Regions from separate parts of the Homo sapiens genome. Here region 1 is linked to region 2. The links are contacts of gene promoters, found by promoter capture Hi-C in blood cells and fetal thymus (Javierre and others, 2016). All regions are on one chromosome and are shown on one strand. Each heading gives the region's core, a stretch centred on a gene start or on the middle of the fragment in contact. The rest is flanking DNA. Distances are from core to core; before and after follow the strand shown.

Evidence for each region. Contacts are between HindIII fragments. The CHiCAGO score rates a contact against its expected background, and 5 or more counts as called.
Region 1: a contact is called between a fragment that was not itself captured here and the fragment with the promoter of NKX6-1 in region 2, in 1 of 17 cell types (monocytes). The highest score is 9.1, in monocytes.

The regions. Positions count from the first base shown.
Region 1 is chr4:83,483,252-83,486,490 of GRCh38, reverse strand. It overlaps ABRAXAS1 (abraxas 1, BRCA1 A complex subunit), which reads left to right and starts at 1,391. Exons shown (of 9, transcript NM_139076.3): 1 at 1,391-1,505. The coding sequence starts at 1,419. RefSeq lists a silencer at 1,176-1,665. The HindIII fragment of the contact is 4,128 bases long and covers 1-3,239 here.
Region 2 is chr4:84,498,022-84,500,810 of GRCh38, reverse strand. It overlaps NKX6-1 (NK6 homeobox 1), which reads left to right and starts at 1,519. Exons shown (of 3, transcript NM_006168.3): 1 at 1,519-2,789. The coding sequence starts at 2,583. The HindIII fragment of the contact is 5,978 bases long and covers 442-2,789 here.

The DNA of each region.
Region 1 (3,239 bases), core at 136-2,635, 1.0 Mb after region 2:
CTCTCCCTTATGAAAAAGTGTACATAAGCATCTGAACCTCATTGGATTATTGGGTAATCACTCTACTGTGATTTTCTCCAGGGCACATTAATAAATTTGTATGCCAGTCGGGAGCGCCTGTAATCCCAGCACTTTGGGAGGCCGAAGGGGGCAGATCACCCGAGGTCAGGAGTTCGAAACCAGCCTGGCCAACATGGTGAAACCTTGTCTCTAATAAAAATACAAAAAAAATAAATAAATAAGCCGGGCTTGGTGGCACGTGCCTGTAATCCCAGCTACTCAGGAGGCTGAGGCAGAAGAATCGCTTGAACCCGGGAAGTGGAGGCTGCAGTGAGCTGAGATGGTGCCACTGCACTCTGGCCTGGGTGACCAAGCGAGACTCAGTCTCAAAAAAATAAAAAATAAAATAAATTCGTATCCCTTTTCCTTCTGTTCATCTTTTCTTTTGTTAGTTCACTCCAGTGAACCTTCAGAGGGCAGAGCTTTCCCTTCACCCCTACAAAATGAAGGCAAGAAACTTAATTCTAGGGAATAAATATATAATCATTAATTATATACATATGTATTGTGTGTTACGCAGCCACAGACAACTGCTTGACAACAAAACCCACAAATGTGCCACACTAATTCAGTAGTCTGCTATTATGCTTACTTTCAGTCATTTAAGAAACATACCTTTACGTGTGTGTGTGTGTGTGTGTGTGTGTAAAATACATTTGCCAAGCCCTGGTCCACTCACCTTACCATTTACATTAAATGAACCAGCTTACTATGATTATGCCTATCATTAAACTGTCAGAACATTAAATATCCATGTATTGTTTAAATTAGGCTGAAGTTTTCTAAAAGCAAGGGAACACACACATGCACACACACAAACACACAGACACAGAACATGGCTAGAGAGTTCTAGCAAAGACAATCCCCAAATGGTTATTAGTATTCTGTAAGTTTCAGTGAGTGAAGGGTGCTAAAATGCAGCTTGAAAACCAAAACCGTGGCATATCCACTGTGGCATCGTAATGTTGCTACTCAACTCTTTTATTCTTGTAATCATTGCTTGTCTTAAAATGACCCTGTCAACCGTGTTCATTTTGATAGCTTTGCATGTTTGTGACAGGTCGCTCAGCAGGCGCAGGCCACCAAAAGCAATTCGCAGCCCTCTGCAGTGGTACCGACATGCAGCGGCCTTCCGGGAGAGGCCGGCAGCAGAAGCGAAGGAGGAGCCGAGCGCGCGGCTGGGGACCCGCCCGCGCCCGCCCTCAGCCCCCTCGCCCCGCCCCTCTGCGGAGCGCGCAGCAGCCCGTGCGCCGGCGCAGGCCCCGCCTCCTCGCTGGGCCCCGCCTCGCTGCCACCACAGGGTCTTGCCTCCGCGCGCCCCGCCCTCGTCCTCTTGTGTAGCCTGAGGCGGCGGTAGCATGGAGGGGGAGAGTACGTCGGCGGTGCTCTCGGGCTTTGTGCTCGGCGCACTCGCTTTCCAGCACCTCAACACGGACTCGGACACGGTGAGCCGAGGGACGGGGCGGGGTCCGGCGTCGCCTGGGAAGAGCCCTGCGCGCGGCCTGCCTCCCCGCTGTTGCTCCGGTCCCCGCCCGCTCCCCCGACGCCGCCGCGCCTCCTCCCTGCGGTCGCGGCTCTGCCTTCTCTCCCCCTCAGCGGTCCCTGAGGTGCCTCGTGCCCACGAAGTCTTCTCCAGCATTAGCCCTCCCTCTGCTATCCTCCGTTATTTCCCTTTTCCGACCCAAGTGTCCCACACGCTCCCATCTTTCCTCGGCGCCCCTGTAGCTGTGGAAACTTGGGCGTGAAAAGATGGAAAGTTCACGGAGCGTCTTTCCGCTGCTCTGCGGAGCCTGCGGTAAACTTTCCGTTTCTCGCGACGCCCGACAGGCGTTTGCAAAACCAGGCGGACTTTTTCATGCAGAGCAGCGTCTGTGCGTGTTTGTTGCGATGGTAGGATGGTAAGGGAATAAAAATAGATGTTGCGTCCAGTGGCAAATCTTAGTGGATGGAACAGCTTAATCTGGTATATCAGATATCTTTTTATTTGCGTTATTAAATTTGTTAAAACAGTTTTTAAAAGTACGTTGCCTATTTTCTAAAAGTTCTATGAAATTAAAGAAACGCTGTAAAACGTTGAGCTCGGAAGTAGTTAATGTCCTGTAGCACTTTCAGTAACTTGCAGAAAGAAAGTCTAAGCATCTGAAATACACTTCCCTGCTGTGTGGTACAGTTCGGAGAATACCCTGCTGAACAATGCCTAGTAATTTCTGCTAAGTTCATTTTAAGATATAACGTCTATTTTACTCAAAATTGCCTTAATATAGGTCGGGCGCGGTGGCTCACGCCTGTAATTCCAGCCCTTTGGGAAGCCGAGGCGGGTGAATCACCTGAGCCCACGAGTTCGAGACCATCGGGGACAACGTAGTGAGACCCGGTCTCTACAAAATCTAAACATTACAAAATTGCTCTTTGGCACAATCCTAATAAAGGTTGGAATTGGTATGTTTTATGTATACAATTTCAGATAACCTTACAAAGTAATACCTAATAAAGAACAAATATATGACCATTTAAAATATATGTGTAGCTGTGGAAATTATTTTGGAATACCTGTAGTGTAGATAGAGTGGGACCGTAAATCCTCGGTAGCTTAAACGATTAGCCCTTGGGAAGTACCTGAGTGCTAGGGAGGCCCCTGTTTCTCAGATCTTTTTCCTGAAGTCTTTAAAGGGTGGTTTTTCTGGCTAGTTGCACTTGCATTGCCCCCCTGCTTCCCTTCCCTGAGTTCGTCTTTTGAGTATCAAAATCAAGAACACTAGATTCTGGATATCCCCCCGCGTGATTCCAGTAAAGACTCACATTATGGAAATAATCCTTTTTTACTTTTAGGGGAAAAAAGCATTATTAATTATAAAGAATATAAAATATTTCTGTAATCACAGCACTTTGGGACGCGGAGGCAGGAGGATCATTTGAGCCCAGGAGTTCAAGACCAGCGTGGGCAACATAAGGAGACCTCATGTCTACAAAAAAATTTTAAAAATTAGCCCGGCGTGGTGGCACGTGCCTGTAGACCCAGCTACTTGGAAGGCTGAGGCAGCAGGATTGTTTGAGCCTGGGAGGTCAAAGCTGCAGTGAGTAGTGATTGCACCGCTGCACTCCAGCCTGGGTGATGACAGAGCTAGACCTCTTCTCAAAAAAAAAAAAAAAAAAGATATAAAATCTTCATTGTCAAGCAC
Region 2 (2,789 bases), core at 270-2,769:
TCCTGGCTTTTCGTGCTTGGACCCAAATGAGCGCTTTGACACCAATAGCTAAACTCCATCCGTCGGTGGTGCTGATCAAATTTTATTCTTGAGCCATTTATTGCGTTTATTTCTGTTTTCTGCTCATTAAAATTGTAATTAATGATCTCATCCAAATTTGCTGTAGCGACCACCTTCCAATGGTGTGTTACTTTAACATGCTGAATTCTCAAAATTGTCAAAGGGTTTTCCTTCTCCAGCCCGCAGTTCAACCCTGTCGGGAACGTAAAGATCAGCCAGAGATGGAAGAGATTTAGAGAGTAAAGGAAGCCACCCTTCAACTCCTAAACTCTAGATAGACATCCCACCACCACTGTCCAGGAGCTGGTACATCTCCATCTCCCGTAGCAACTCTAGAATTGGGAGTAGGCGCCAGAGTTTTGGAGAGGGTTTTCAAAAGCTTACAGTTCCCAGGGTGTACCTAGATGCTTCTGTATCTAAAGTTTCCGCCTGAATTTTGATGATTCTACCCCCATGTAAACCCAAAGGAAATAACAACAATAATCAAAGGGAGAAAAGTTAAGGGAAAAAACTCCCTCACTGTTCTCAGGTATAAACATCATCTGACAGATAAATATTCCTATTAAACGGATTCAGTTTTCAGCGAATTGAGTAACCCATAAATGATAATGAACGCGGTGGGAAGCGACGGGCGGGGGGGAACTCGGGAATGAAAAAAAAAATAAAGTGGAGGAGAAAGAACAGAAAAGGAAAGCAGGAGGTGGAAAGATGGAAGAGGACGATCCTTTGGCCTACAAGGGGATTAAGGACATCTATAAGGCTTAAGGAGCAACAAATTAATTTACACAATTCTGGGAGAGCCCAGATGGCCTTTAATTAATCCCTTCAAAAGAAGGAGCCAGGCCAGGGCTGCGCCGGCTGCCTGCTCCATTAGCTCCATTTTACAAGGGACCAGACTTGGTTCGAGGTGAGGCGCCCTCCAGAGCTGGTGGGGGAAGGGGATAGGATGACGCGAGCGGGCTAGTGGGGAAGCAAGGGAAGAATATGAACTGCTTTTCCATAAAAGGGCTGAGTTTTCATTATTCCTCTCTTTAAAAAGTAATACCCTCTTCGTCTCTGCTTCCCCCTCCCCTTTCTCATTTTATTTAGCACAATTAATTGAGGCGGCCACTGGCCCCAGCGCGGAACCGCACCACTCACCAGCTCCCGCCCCTCCTGGCCCCGCCCACAGGAGAAAGAAGTAGGGAGCGGGAGGGGACTAGGCGGGCGCGGCCCTACGCCTGGCCCGCCTCAGCCAATCAGAGGGTGCGGCGCCCCCGAGTGGGCGAGCCCCAGGGGCGACGCAAGGATCGAGGCGGCGAGCTATTGGACACGGTGGTTACGCCCCCGGCCTGCGCCCGGCTCGCCGGCCCCCGCAGCCTCGGAGTGACGTCCCTCAAAGTTCTCATTTTGGTCCCCCACTTCCCCCTCCCTTTCGTCCCCCAGCTAAAGAGGGGTAGGGAGTGATGCAAATGTTTTATTACCTTTGAGAGCTTCATCTGAACTGTCAGGCCCGGAGGGAGAGAGGAAAGGAGAGAAAGAGCGGAGGAGCCGCGGAGAGGGTCAGTTTGGCCAGAGGACAGGACTTAGAAGACCGAAGCCTGGGAAGCCGCGAAGAAAATGCCAGAGAGGAGAGTCAAAGGCTGAGAGTGAGAGGGAGAGAGGGAGCGGGGGTGGGGCGGGGGTCGCCGGGCCCGTTTGCAGAAGTGGACTGACGAGCGGCGCCGAAACCCAGCCGTCAGACTTTTCACACTTAGTCTTTTGTTTTTCTGTGTTTTTCCTCCCCCTTTTTCTTTTCAATATTGCAACTCCAGTGCCCCGTGGGCCAGAGGGCAAGGCGGGTGGAGGTGAGGACCTGGGAGCCGCGGGGATCCGTGGCACTGCCCTTTCTGGCGCAGCAGCCCGGGGCAGCGTGGGCGGAGGAAGCCCGCACAGAGGCTAGATCTCCCGCGGGCTGGATGCGCTTTCTCCCCGGGCACAGTGAGCGTCGAATGCGAATCAGCCGCGCGACCGAAAGAGCAGAGCATCCCAGTAAGATCAGAGGAGCGCCACGGGCTGCACAAGGCGTCCTTTGAACCTCCCCAAAGAAAGCAAGCCACCCCCACCCTCCAACTTCAAAGTGGAGATTCGGCAACTAACTTTGCTACAAACTCTCCGGAGCCAGCCTGGGTTTTGTTTTGCTTATTTCCCGGGGGCAGAAGATGAGAAGTAGCGCACTTTGAACAGCTAGGAAAAGTGAGGAAGAGAGAATAGCCAGGGATCGAATCTAGGACTCGCGGAACGAAAGGACTGCCTAGCCCGCCGGGACGCCTGCTTTTCTCGGCGAGCTGCCGCCTCCCGCGTGGAGGGTTTGGACATCTCTGCTGCGCAGCTAGGCGAGCAACTCCCGGCAGCGGCATTTTTGGTTCAGTTGGCAGCTCGCCTCCGGGCGCGCCGAGTGCCTCTCCGCTCGCGCCCTCGGCGCTTCCGGCTCCTCTGAGCCCCGCGGGGGGCACCAGCCAGCGCCCTCGCTGCAAGGCTACGGTCTCCGGCGTGGCCGTGGGATGTTAGCGGTGGGGGCAATGGAGGGCACCCGGCAGAGCGCATTCCTGCTCAGCAGCCCTCCCCTGGCCGCCCTGCACAGCATGGCCGAGATGAAGACCCCGCTGTACCCTGCCGCGTATCCCCCGCTGCCTGCCGGCCCCCCCTCCTCCTCGTCCTCGTCGTCGTCCTCCTCGTCGCCCTCCCCGCCTCTGGGCACCCACAACCCA